3 separate regions of the Homo sapiens genome follow, and regions 1 and 3 are each linked to region 2. Evidence: promoter capture Hi-C in 16 types of primary human blood cells and fetal thymus (Javierre and others, 2016). All regions are on one chromosome and are shown on one strand. Each heading gives the region's core, a stretch centred on a gene start or on the middle of the fragment in contact. The rest is flanking DNA. Distances are from core to core; before and after follow the strand shown. Region 1 overlaps ARHGEF28 (Rho guanine nucleotide exchange factor 28). Region 2 holds the start of FAM169A (family with sequence similarity 169 member A). Region 3 overlaps ARHGEF28 (Rho guanine nucleotide exchange factor 28).

Evidence for each region. Contacts are between HindIII fragments. The CHiCAGO score rates a contact against its expected background, and 5 or more counts as called.
Region 1: a fragment that was not itself captured here is called in contact with the fragment with the promoter of FAM169A in region 2 in 1 of 17 cell types (fetal thymus); the score reaches 7.6 in fetal thymus.
Region 3: a fragment that was not itself captured here is called in contact with the fragment with the promoter of FAM169A in region 2 in 1 of 17 cell types (erythroblasts); the score reaches 5.1 in erythroblasts.

Annotation. Positions count from the first base shown.
Region 1 is chr5:73,890,181-73,894,720 of GRCh38, reverse strand. ARHGEF28 (Rho guanine nucleotide exchange factor 28) reads right to left here. Exons shown (of 36, transcript NM_001177693.2): 27 at 2,491-2,669; 28 at 1,433-1,524; 29 at 146-328. Among named protein-coding and RNA genes, the nearest start is that of LINC02122, 210 kb to the left of the region's middle. The HindIII fragment of the contact is 1,985 bases long and covers 654-2,638 here.
Region 2 is chr5:74,863,768-74,868,304 of GRCh38, reverse strand. It overlaps FAM169A (family with sequence similarity 169 member A), which reads left to right and starts at 1,918. Exons shown (of 13, transcript NM_001376049.1): 1 at 1,918-2,140. FAM169A-AS1 (FAM169A antisense RNA 1) reads right to left here and starts at 2,412. Exons shown (of 1, transcript NR_134288.1): 1 at 1,030-2,412. RefSeq lists silencers at 1,982-2,231, 2,302-2,471. The HindIII fragment of the contact is 5,081 bases long and covers 793-4,537 here.
Region 3 is chr5:73,908,424-73,912,841 of GRCh38, reverse strand. It overlaps ARHGEF28 (Rho guanine nucleotide exchange factor 28), which reads right to left. Exons shown (of 36, transcript NM_001177693.2): 34 at 2,945-3,430; 35 at 1,267-1,567. Among named protein-coding and RNA genes, the nearest start is that of LINC02122, 190 kb to the left of the region's middle. The HindIII fragment of the contact is 461 bases long and covers 1,509-1,969 here.

The sequences.
Region 1 (4,540 bases), core at 397-2,896, 970 kb after region 2:
CTAGAAATATAAGTTCCAGCCGAGTAAGGACCTTGTCTTGTTCTGCTGTATCCTCAGCACCAAGACCACAGTGCATGGCACTTAGCAGGTGTTCAATAAACATTTTCTGAACGTGTCGACCCAAACCCTTCTCACAGCAGTTTACCTTCTTTCAGTGCTGCTGCCAGTAATGAGGCTGCCTGGGGAGGCTCGCCTGGGTCAGGTTTAATAAGGAGGTGGGGCTCTAGATGGACGTCCTCAAATCCGCTCAGTTCTCCAAGTTCAGCATAGATATGCAGCTTCTCCTCCAAATACGCACAAATTTGTTGGTCTTGGTTAGTGAGTATTTCTATGAAATAGTATTTACCATAGAAGATTATCACTAACATGAATACAACCACTAATGTGAAAGTCCACGAAAAAGATGTTGCTAATTAGCAAGCAGTAAGACCTCCAAGAGAAAACCCAGGTTGATGAGTGGGGCAGATGCAGGTCTCAGTCCTGACCATGCCACTTAGTGACTGTGGCCTCCAGCAAGTGACTTAACAACTTTCTCAGCTTCCATTGTCTTTTCTGTAAATAAGGTTCCTTTCTCAGTCCCCTACTTCCAGAAAATTTGCAAAGCTATTCTTTGTTTGTTCAGGCTGTTTTCTATTAAGACTAAACATTAAGCTTAGGAATGAAAATTGAGGCGGCCCTGTCCATGATGAGTGAACAATACAAATGCCTGGAACGGCACAGGCTAAACCAAACATACTGGTTTAAGTTTTTGTTTCTAAACATCCAATTTCTTTGCCCATCTTTGCATGCATCATTGTCCTCAGATTTCAACATGTTACAGAATTCTTAAAGCTCAAAGGGACCTTAACTAGCATTGAATCCAGGAATTCTCAGTCCCCTCTGTGCTTCAAAGTCACCTTGGGAGAGCTGAAAACCCCAAAGTCTACATCCCACCTGCCACAGATTCGGATTCAATCGGTGGAGGGTGAGGCCCAGGCATCCGTATTTTTAAAGACCTCTCAACTGATTCCAGTGTCCAACCAGAGTAGAGAATCACTGAGCTAGTCTAATCTCCTTCTTTCACACACTTGCAAACTGGGGACAAGATCTGTTGGGTTCCTTGTCCAAAGTCATTGACATGACAGTGCTGAGACCTAAAATTAAACCATGAGACAAATAATTCCAACATTCATCTGCACCACACTGCCCACAGCTGTTGTTTCATATATGTTATGTGCATTTTTTACATCCATTTTAATCACTAAGGTGGAAGTGAAGAGAATGTCATCTTATTTGAGCATTTCTAGTGTAAGTTTCTCGGGAGGGTGGTCCAGGTGGGCCTCAGGTGCACAGGATGAATCATGTAGTTATAACCTCCTGTTCATGACACTCAGGCTTTCCCAACACCCAGGAGAACACCACGACCAGGGAGCCAGAAGTGCCTGCACTGTACCTTGACATTGCTGAATTTTGGCCACTCTGGCTTCAGCTTTCCTCTTGTCTTCATCAGATTCACTTGTCCTTCCCCCTTTTTCTTCAGGACAACTTTAAAAGACAATAGTCAAGAGACACAACTGAAACCAAATGCAAGTATCTGTAGATTCATTAGAAAAACATGGGAACTTGGCAATAGATTTATTCATAAAGGAGAAAATTTCAGCATAAAGGGAATGCATCATCCCCCCTGGCCAGAGACTTGGTTTTCTTGAGAATACAAAGAATCTTGCATAACATTACATGGCTCTCAAAATCGGTGGTGTGGGATGACTCAAATATTCCAGTGAACACAAACATACACTCACCACACACACCCATAATGGGAATAAAGTATAAGAATTGTAAAGGATAGAAGTGGGGTGCCAGGGCAGATGGGGTGCAGTAGAGGTAGAGAAATTTTATATAACTTCAGGATCTAACTAATCAAACTACTGTTGAGAATGATCACCCCCACCCTTGTGCTCCCAATTATAAAAACTGTCCTTGCACAAGTAATGAGGAATAAATTGACTTAGAATACTTAGATCCACCAATTCAGAAACATTTATTGAATGATTTCTCAGCACTAGGCACACAGAGAAACATAAGACATGAACCCTGCCCTCGAGGAGCTTCCAATCTAATTAAATAAACACACACATATGTACATAAAAAAGATAATAGCTACAAGGCAGTATATAAGAAGCATCAAGTAAATGCTTTAGTGAGCAGGTGTTAAAGAATTTCAGGCAAGAAAGAGATCACCAGGACTGAAGGGGTCCTCATGGAGGAGGGGAGGCCCGAGCTGCATCAACGCCCGGCAGGGTGCACACAGGCAGAGGGAGGTGCAGGCATTACATGCAGGGAGGCGTGGAGGAGAAAGCTGCAGATGGGGGGCTATCGCAGGCAGGTGCAGGGGGCAGGGGGCAGACCATTCTGGCAGAGGCAAAGTTTTCATGCAGGAAGACATGGTTAGAATATTTTCCCCAGTTGAACAACTCTGTTCCATAGATTATGGACGGAAGGAAATGTTACCTTTCTACAGCCTGCTGGATCCGTCTCATCCAGTTATTGCGTTCCTCCTTGGAATTGGTGTGAATTTCATACATCTCAGGACCAGCAGATGAAGCACTGATCAGAAACATTCCTCTCTCCTCATTAGCAACTTCTCTAGCAATAAGCTTTTGAAGGGAAATAACTGATGGCTTCTGATCCTACATAAAATAGGAAGGTGAGCAGATGAAACAGCATCCTAGCTAAAGTAAGGCTCCGTAAAACATGAGCTAAAGGAAGCAAGAGTACTAGGTAAACCTTTCTCCACTTCCAATCTTTTCAAAAGAGCTGTAGAAGTTGATACAATCTCCAATGGAGACGGTATGGAAAAGAGAGGATGGAAAAAGAGGAATTATAGGCATGCTCATCCTTAAGAATTGGTGGTTTAGGCCGGGCCCAACGGCTCCCTCCTGTAATCCCAGCACTTTGGGAGGCCGAGGCAGGTGAATCACTTGAGGTCAGCAGTTCAAGACCAGCCTGGCCAATGTGGTGAAACCCCATCTATACTAAAAACACAAAAATTAGCCAGATGTGCTGGTGTGCGCCTGTAGTCTCAGCTGCTTGGGAGGCTGAGGCATGAGAATTGCTTGAACCTGGGAGGCAGAGGTTGCAGTGAGCGCACTCCAGCCTGGGCAACAGAGCAAGACTCCATCTCAAAAAAAGAAAAAAAAAAGGAATTGGTTGTTTAAAAACTGAACTTTTTAAAAGACAGAACAATCAGAGAAGAAAAATATCAAAATGCCATAGTCAAGGCAGGAGAAGTTTTTCTAAGAGAGCATGAGATAGGAAACTATGTCAAATGTCAAAGAGACTGAGAAGGAGGGAGGCCCTAAAAAGTCCATTAGACTTGCAATACTCTTTCAATAAGGTGACGGAACAGAAGCCCAGAAACTCAGAAGCCCAGCCCATGGACTATAAAAGTGACTACAAAAGATACGAATAAGTGGCAAGACCTTTGATTCCCCAGGCGTAACCAATCCTTTTTGCTACTGTCATGTGGGTCACAGCAACAAAATGGTCTACAAGTTCTTGCCTCTTCTCACCAAGCAGATGAGCCCTTGGTGGGTGGGAATGGGTCTCATTCATCTTCATGCACCTAGCACATAGCCAAGCATAGAGTAGGCACTCAATAAATGTTGGTAGGACTAGTTTCACATAAGTCCACCACAGGGTAATAGGAAGAAAGTCTAAAATTTGGCATGTACGCCATGATTAAACCACCTCTTCTACCAACATCTACTGTGATCCTCCAATGTCTTTTTCTAAACACTGGGGATTCAAAGAGGAACAGCACACTGATGATGCTTGGTAGGTAGATGTAGTTGAAAGAATGGCCAAAAGAATGACTTCAAGATGAACAGTTTGGGGGATAATATGAAGAATTCTTCTTTGGTCTGTGGCTTCCACCAGTGTTTACAGAGCTGGTTGCAGTGTGTGGTTTTGCTTCACCATCATGGACTGAGCGACGCCTTTATCCAGAACATGCCACTGTTCCCTCACTGCTGACTCCTTGGTGCTGGCTTGTCGGCTTTCCCAGCATCATACAGCTTGGCCATATCAGAGGCTGTGTGCCATGGTGACCCAGAGTACCTCCTCACCCCACGCTTCTCAGAGTAGCATGAGAGTAAAAATATAATGGGACAAGACCACTAGTCTATACAGCCTGTGCTCAGCCTCTGAAAATGGAAGCAAAAGCAGCCCCATGGCAGAGTTGTTGGAATACTGCCCTCTCTAATTAGGGAGATCCTTGGAGCATTGTTAATCTGGCTTATTCTATTATGGACCTACTCCCTTATCTGTTTCCCTGATGCAATGTGCAATGTACTTTATAGCTTCCTCAGCTGACAAGGTAAACAGCCTCTGTATGTAAAAAGGCAGAGTAGGTTTACTTGCTTAAGACATGAGCAAGAGTGCAATTATTTGAACCAGTTGGTTAGTGTTGCAGGGGAGGGGAGGTGGCAGGGTAAGATCTTTTCAAAGTGAAGAACAGGTAAGTGCAAGGAAAGTAGCATTCATTCGATCACCATCAGAC
Region 2 (4,537 bases), core at 669-3,168:
CTGGCGCAGTGGCTCACGCCTGTAATCCCAGCACTTTGGGAGGCCGAGGCGGGCGGATCGCTTGAGCTCAGAAGTTCAGGACCAGCCTGGGCAGCATGGCGAAACTCCGTCTCTACAAAAATTAGCGAGGTGCGTTGGTGTGCACCTCTGTCCCAGCTCTTCCGGAGGCTGACGCCGGAGAATCGCTTGAGCTTGGGAGGCAGAGGTTGCAGTGAGTCGAGATCGCGCCATTGCATTCCAGCCTGCCTAGGCTGTGGGAGTGAAACCCTGTCTCAAAAAAAAAAAAAAAAAAAAAAAAAAAAATTGGACCTTTTCTTTTATAGGTCTGGGTGAATGTAGTTCTGTCTCCTACCAGAATAGCCAGACATCTGGGAGCCAGGCCTCCCTGACCCAGGCACAAATACCCGCATACTTCTAAAACAATAGCTAAGAGTCAATCACACCCAGGCATTTCAAATATTATCAACAAGTTGTATTGGTTAGCTTTACACTAAGGCCTGAGGCTTCAACATCTGTAGGGCATAGTCTGGTAGCCAAAGCTTCCCCAAATGGCAATTGTTTGGGATTACCCTGGGGACTCCTACTTACACATAGCTCTAGAAATGTAAATACAAGTCATATAATTTCATTCATCACTGGCTATGGGTAGAACCCAACTACCCAAAATTCCTGCTCTATTAAATCTAATTCATTAAGTTTCATTAAAATGGTAAATGATGTGTAATAGTAAAGATTTTGGCTAATTAAATATTATACAAATGAAACAATAGATTCTTATATGGCAGAAAAGCTTTTTTTAAAAATCAGGGTCAAATATATCTATATCAACAAGCATTCTTTGAAGTATTTTTTGATCTTGCTAATTTTGCTAATCATTAGTAAATTCGTGAAAGTTGGTATTGTGATTGCTAAATATTTCCCAGGAATGAAAGAAGCAATTTTCAACTTTTCTGGATGAGCTGAACATAATACTACGGTTCTTGGATGATGAGTAAAAGAAAGTCTTGACATTAATACTTAGATACAATATTGTTTCTCAATACAGTTATTAAATATATTTAGACTACAATACGCATTACCTTAAAGACAATTTATCATGTTTTAAATGCTGGAGGGCTAATTTTCAGTAGGAGTGTGTAATTAGCAAAGGCGCCAGAGGCCATAAGACGGTAGAATAGAGCTGGGAGAGGCACGGGAGGAAAGCCGGATGGAACCCTGTTGTCTTTCTGGGTCAGGGTTATTCTGTACCGGTTAAACGGTGAAAGAGAAAAGGTCAGCGCAGGAATGTGGTATTTCCCTGACATCTCCAGATGAAAGTCCGGGCTCTAGGACTTCTGTAGACTGTGAAAGCAGCCCACGATTCTAACTTGCATGCACCTAAGTGGCAGTAGGTTTAGGATGAAAGTGGTGGGGCGGAGGCCGGCGGTCCTCGCCCGTGCCCTCTGCACCCCTGTCCCGAGGCCGGGATGGCCGCGCCCACTCTGGGTAAATTTCAGGAGGGCCTACGCGGGGCTGGAGAACTCCACCGGGCTATGCGAACAGAATCCTGCGAAGGTCGGCATTAAAGGAATACGCAAAATCAGCGTTGCAGCCCCCGCGGCTTAACCGCATCTATTTTTATATCTAAGCCAAGGTCACTCTTTAATACCAGGCCATTGCCCTGAGCTGGGCGTCGCGCTGCCGGGTGACGGCGGCCGGGGCGGAGAGAGGGGGCGCGGGTGGCGAGGCGGGGGCCGCGTGACGCCCCCGGGCTGGCCAAGCCCGCACCTGCCGGGCCGGCGCCTGAAAGCCGGGGCTGGAGGGAGGCAGGGCGGCGTCCCAGGCTCCGAGGAGGGGCCGCTCCGCGCTGGCGGGCGGGGGGATTCGCGGTGGGCGCGGGCGCGGAGCGGAAGCGAAGGCTGGAGGCGCTGCGGCGCTAGTGCGTCACGTCGTCGGAGGGCACGGTGGGCCGCGGCCGACCCGCGACGAGGAGCCGGGCGTCCGGGGCGAGCGGGAGGCAGCCGCACTCGCCCTGGCAGCCGCGAGCTGTGCGGCCTGGGACCGGCCGGAGGTCGCCAGCGAGCAGCCGCCGGCTCCATTCATTCGCGCGGCTCCGCCTCCTTTCCCGGGCTCTTCCAGCGGCTCCCGGGGCGCGTCTGAGGTGAGTGCGCTCCCTCTCCCCGGCGCGGACCGCTGGGTGAGGCCGAGACGGCCGCGCCGGGCCCCGCGCCCCCGCCAGCACCAGACCCGCGGACACCGAGCGGCGACGCGGGCCACCGGCTGTGGGCGGCCCCTGCGGGCTGGGCCTGGCGCAGACCAGTGCGGGCCGCCTGGACCCGGGGCTCGCGTCCAGCTGGCGGCGGTCTGCGGGGATCCCGTAGGGCGTGTGGCGCCCCCAGGTGCGCCGGCCTCCGCCTCGGCGCCACCATTTTGTGTGAGGGAATGCCCGTCTTCGCTCGCCTCCGCCGCGGGCCGGTTCGCAGCTGCGGCTTGCCGCCCCCTCCCCTCGCCCTCTCCCCACCTGGATGCTTGGCGTGCGAGCTGATTGCTTTGGCTTGGGGAGACGCGGACTCGGGGAGGTGTGGAACTTCAGCGTTTAGACTCGGTTCACCCGACCAGGTGGCCTCCAGAGATGCTCTGACCGCCTTCCTTTACCTGTAACTACTTTTGGAACAGATATTGTATGATTCTCCCTCCTCTGGAATGCTGGTCGTTGCAGTTTTGTCCTAATTGTGTTCTCAGCTCTCCATTATGCCATTTTTCAAGAGGCCTGTGCCTCAGGAGGTGAAGCCTTGAACCCTGGGTGGTTTATGGCTCGGGGGTCTGGATTACACTGACTCCCATGACTGTCCTTGGGGAGAAAGGATGAAGCATCTCACTGGCTTTTCAGCGTCTGGGAAGCGGCGTGGGTATCGTATCGGGTGGATTCGAAGATAACCACCTGATGCAGGTCACCTTCCCCCGCTGGGAGAGCCGTTCCTAACGTAAATTAAAACGTGTGTACGGGTTTTTGGGGGATTGGGACCGGAGGGACATATTTCTAAAAAATTTCCAGAAGGGAAAGTTTTCATTGTGATTCTCACAGAACTGTGACACAATTTGTCATTTTCAAGGTTCCTGAGAATTTGGGAATTCTTTTAATTCGTTGGCTTCTTGCGAATTACTACTTACGAACTGAGCAGATTATACCCAAGCCATTTATATTTTGTCATTGCATCACAGACAGGGATTACAATCGGGAGTGCTGGCTGTTGCATAATGCACACATTTGGGCCCTGGAGGGAATTCACCGAAGTGGATCTGGGTTTGGTGTGCCATGCGTTTTTATTTTTTACACAGGATGTACAGATGATCTTTGCAAACTACGTCCCTTATCGTGCTATAAAGTGTTTACAAGAGGAAAGATTTTTATTGACTAGTATGGACCAGACTAAAATTTTTAGTGTTTTAGTTTTGCTTGTTTTGGAGGAAAGGCAAGGAATGAGATGGTGAGAGGCACCTGGGAAAAGTCCGTTTATCCTAACACTTGAAGCGCAAACAAAGATAAAACATGATCGTCTTTCACAGAAATCTTGTAGCTATTATAGTGGACTTTTCTCTAAGTTAATGATGGGGATCTGTTTGGGGAACTTAGAAATAGCTTATGTGAGTAGCAACATTGACCTTCCACATGAGTGACCATAAATTAAGGTGTTTTACCTGTGGATTTTAGGTTCTAAAAGGCTTCAAATTAGTCTGACCTTTGAGATAGTATTCATGTCATTACAAGTGGTATTTATTTAATAAAGATGGGATATAGGCCGGGTGCGGTGGCTCACACCTGTTTTCCCAACACTTTGGGAGGCCAGAGCGGGTGGATCACGAGGTCAGGAGTTCAAGACCAGCCTGGCCAACATGGTGAAACCCCGTCTCTACTAAAAATACAAAATTAGCCGGGTGTGGTGGCACATGCCTGTAATCCCAGCTACTCGGGAGGCTGAGGCACAAGAATCACTTGAACCCAGGAGGCAGAGGTTGCGGTGAGCCGAGATCGTGCCCTTGCACTCCAGCCTGGGCAACAACAGTGAAACACCAAGATGGAATATATATCCAACAAAGGATTTTGATTTGGAGAAAACAAAATAATTAAGTGCTTTTGAGGTAAAGTTTCCATGCCATCCTCCTTATTAAATTAAACTATTTATTTTCTGTTTTGTTGAAGACTCTCCCACTAATTTTGTCTTCAAACAAGTGATTACATATTGTGTACCATCCCTGGCAAAAATATCGTGCTTCCCATTATAGATATGTTTATTCTATAGGGAGAATTATGGAGGCGAGAAGAACCTTGGACATTTAGAGATGAGTCTTGGTTTAGGGAATTTAAGTAAGCAAAGATTGCCTGCTAGAGATTGCAGGTGACCTGTCTGGACCTATCCTAGGCCTATGGGGAATGAGATTTTTTTTTTTCTAGCAAATAACAGTGCTGAGTCAAACACAACTCTTAAACTTTTACATTGATTCTGTTATTATACAAGTCAGAGAAGTTCACTGAATTGGTAAGATTGTATTGACTCCA
Region 3 (4,418 bases), core at 490-2,989, 960 kb after region 2:
AACACAGCAAAGCAACATGTGCTTAGAAAAAGAATTCTGCAATCTGCTCTCTATTGTAGTAAAGTTGTAAGATAATATATTAAAGAAGTTACATTTTTCAAAATTTGGCTTGACCTTTTATTTAATCTGAACGATTCCATCATATTTTTTCTTTACCTAAAGAATATCTGAAATAATACTTTAAAAAACTATTTCATTCTCTCCTATATGCTGACAAGAAAGAAGAATGTTACCACGGTGACTTAAGTAATGTAAAGAATTAGCCACTATTAAGAATCAACATCTTTTGGATCAGTAATAAATCAACTTATAAGCAGTATCAGAATTATTACTCTTGAATTGGGAGAAGCCAAATACCTTCAAACCTTTTTGTTGCTGAAAAATTATCCTCCAACTGACAAACTAAGAATATATATTAAGCATAGAAACAAATCTGTATCCAGTTCTGAAGACTTCTATACTACTGCTTGTTTTATGTTTCTGAAACATTTTGCTGTGGGTGATTTATTTCACATCCATGTGGCCAGCCATTTGTTTATTCTATTGCATGCCATCTGTTTTTCGGTAGAGAGGTTTCAAGTTCTTCTCATTCCCTACCTCATATCCCCCAGAAAACAATTTATAATAGACATAGATTTAAATCATTCGGATTCATGTGGAGCTGGTAACACGAGCTGCCTTTCATTTATACTTGGCAAATGCTTTAATGGGATTAGCAAATTGTGTTATTATGAGGTACTTATGGAGAGACAACACTTTTTTTTTTTTTTACAATGACAAATGATGTTAACAGTTTCATTTTGGGTGTTTAATAGCAGTACAGAAGATTTCACTAACGTTACAGGAAATTGCCCTGATAAAGTCCCACTACCAACCCTGTTGGTATCTGTTATTATTTCTGAGTGTCAACATAGGTGTTTCAGGATGTAGTGGGGTCCACAATAGTGGGGAGTAAATATCAAGTTGCTTTACTTTTAAGAGGACATTATTATTTTAACCCACACATCTAAAAATCCTGTCTGGTTCTCACATGTTGTGAGCATTCTCTAAGCCCTATGACCATGGTCTCACTTGTCTAGGTAACTTACAAGCAAAGGCTGTCCCCAGACTTCCCCAAAGAAAAGTGAATGCCACAAACTCCAGCTCATCAGTACCGATTTATTCCCATGCTAGGGAGGACTTTGATTCACTCTACACAAGAGCCAACCATTCAGAGGGACAACTTCTTGTTCAAACTATACAGATGATGTTTAAAGTGTTAATTACCATTTTTACAAGAATCCTTGCTGCTTTCATGGAAAGGAAGTATCTGATGGCCGGAACCAGCGGCTGTCCACAGTTTGTGACTGACATTCGAAGGCTGAGAAGGGTCCACCTTGAGGTCTACTTGATGTTCACTAGTCCTCACCAAGTCAGAATGAGATTGAGTTGTAGGGTAAGTGGCATCCTGATGGATAACTGATGGATTCAGTTTGTTGAAAGTGTTAAATGACATTTGTACTAAAGCTTCATTGATGAAGAATGAGTTTTCATGACATAAACTCTCAGATCGATTAAGTTCCATTACCTGTGTAAAGAAACAGAGGAAAAGTACAATAATTTTTCTAACTTATACAAGTTTCATAAAGTATTTATTCCTGAGAGAATCTTAGGAATCAAGATTTCAGTAAAAGTGAGGTCAAGATTACCACTTCTTTTCTCCCTCCCCTCTCCCATACTCTTTTAATGAGCTAGTACCAAAAACTTCAATTTGCTATGCATGGCATATCTTTAACAACAACAACAAAAAAAGTGGCACTCTATGACATTAAAGTGTTTCCACTTTATTTTAATCAGAGAAAGCAGCAGTTTTTACTTTTGCTAAATAAAAAAGTTGAAAACATATCCATATATACATGAGGAGTTTGCAATAAACATAATTTAGCCAACTTAAAAGGAAAAACAGATTGCAACAGAGATCTTGTAAGCTTATCAACTTCTACAACTTTAGGCACTATCAGTAAAAAAACATACATGCACATAACACAGGAAAATAAATTTCTGGGACGAATAGGATTCTCAAGCATGATTAGAAAAGACACAAATAAATAACTCTTATTAGTGAAATGGATTTTGAATTTACTATATCAAATTTACAAAGAGAGAAGAAGCTCAGCATAACAGAATAGTACTATACTTGCTAAATTCAGTGCCTATAGTATATATTCATAGTTAATTGATCTTCTAAAAGCTACATCTAATAGAACTCTTAAGACAGATCATATAAAGAGAGTCCTTCAAATACTGGAAAAAGAGCACGCTCGCAGTGAGTGTGCCTCCAGGACAAACCCACCCTGGCCTTTCTAGGACAACTTGATTCTGTGTTTGTTCCTTAGGGTAAGGGCATCTCAGGCAGAGTGCAGTGATCCCATAGGACTTGGGCCCTCACATTGTCCTTTTTTTTTTTTTTTTTTTTTTTTTGAGATGGTGTTTTACTTTTGTCACCCAGGCTGGAGTGCAATGGCGTGATCTCGGCTCACTGCAACCTCCGCCTCATGGGTTCAAGTGATTCTCCTGCCTCAGCCTCCTGAGTAGCTGGGATTACAGAGGCCCGCCACCAAGCCCAGCTAATTTTTGTATTTTTAGTAGACACGGGGTTTCACCATGTTGGCCAGGCTGGTCTCGAACTCCCAACCTCAGGTGATCTTCCCGCCTCGGCCTCCCAAAGTTCTGGGATTACAGGCATGAGCCACCGCGCCTGGCCCGCACTGTCCATATTTTAAGTCAAAATGGATATGCGTTATCTCTGAAAGCTTCCAGCTTTGGCTACCTACAAATTGAAAAATCCTCATGAGGTCTTCTTACACAAATCCAAAATGACAGATGTTTGGTTAGTGTCCTAGGAGCCCCCAGGCCCACCCCTGTCTTTGAGAGGCTGCCTCACAGCACCGCAGAAGGTCCATACCTCGGGGCCACCCGGAAGGAGCACCGCGGGCAGGCTCCTCTGCCGGCCGTGCTTCCAGTGGCCCAGCAGGCTCTGCTGGGCCCGCATCCTCGCCTGCTCCCTCTCCACCAGGCGCTGGCCCTCCCTCAGCCGCTCCAGGCTGTGCTGGTACTCCTGGAGCTGGAGGTCCAGCTCGCCCCGGCTCCGCAGCAGCAGCTCCTCCTGCGACTGGCACTCCCGCTCCCGCTCCTGCAGCCAGCTCTCCCTGGTCGCCTGCGCCCGCTGCTGCTGCTCACACCTGCGCAGCCAGCGCCGCTGCTCCTGCTGGAGCTGGTGCTGAAGCTGGTGCACATTGGCCAGCTCCTCATGCTGCCTGTCCGCGTCGCGAGACTTCTGGTCCTGCAAGGGGCCGCCTCGGAGGATAGAGTGGCCGAGAGACAGGCCCTCCTGCTGCTGGAGAACCAGCCTGTGGATCTCAATGTGGCTGTCCTGAATGGTCAAGGCGGCCTGTCAGAGCAGACAGAGGAAAAATCACTGAACACAAGGTTCCATGGTTATTGTTTACCCTTTCGGTTGGAACTACCTCGAAACACAAAACGCAGGCCCGAATTCACTTCTCTTAATATTTCTGGCCTTTTTCTAAGTTACCTCCAAAGGCAAGGTTTTTGGCGTTCCAGAGAGGTGTGTCTACATCTGTCCTAGGGGTAGGACCTGTGAATTTATAGAGAAAAGAAACAAAGCCCAAAAGCAATATCATCCTCTCCTGTGGGAAGGTAGTTTGCTGCTGGTGGTTGGGTGATAGTTAAGCGAGTCTTCTGAATACGAACTCGGCACATAAATTCACAAGGCTGTGCATTCCTGTCCTACATCTCACTCTCTTGCTGAGGTCTCTCCCTAGTCAATCATTCATGAGAACTTAAGAATCCACATAAACCTAGTAGTATCCTTCCTTTGAGTCCCAAACCAGAAATTACTTGAGCTACATTGCATTATGAAGACATAAAAATAAAAAACAACTATTTGGAGACTTTAGGTAAATAATGTTTTTATAACATAATGCCTAAGAATAGCAGTTAATACCATTTTTAGGAGATATGTAAGTGGCTAAAGCTAGTCTCATTACTGTTATATCTTTGTATTATAGCAGGAAGGTCATGCACAAAAAACTAAGCTGAAATTTATTTGTTTAATAGATCGCTAACAGGAGGCTGAAATGATTAAGGGAAAATAGATACTCTAAAGCCCAGAGGACATTACCAACCAGATTAAAAAAACATTTTGAGTTACGGTATCTGCCTATGAAAAGTTTGGCAACATCACAGGAAATAATTACCAAGATTTGGAAGGATTCCACAAAACCAAAGAGATCTCTGTGAATGCCCTTGGAAGCTTTTAATTTTAAAAGTTCCCATTTAGAGTGCAAAGCAGTACAGAAGGGACAAATTGAAAATGGACACATACTGAGTATGTGTGTATGTTTTGACCCCATATGAGA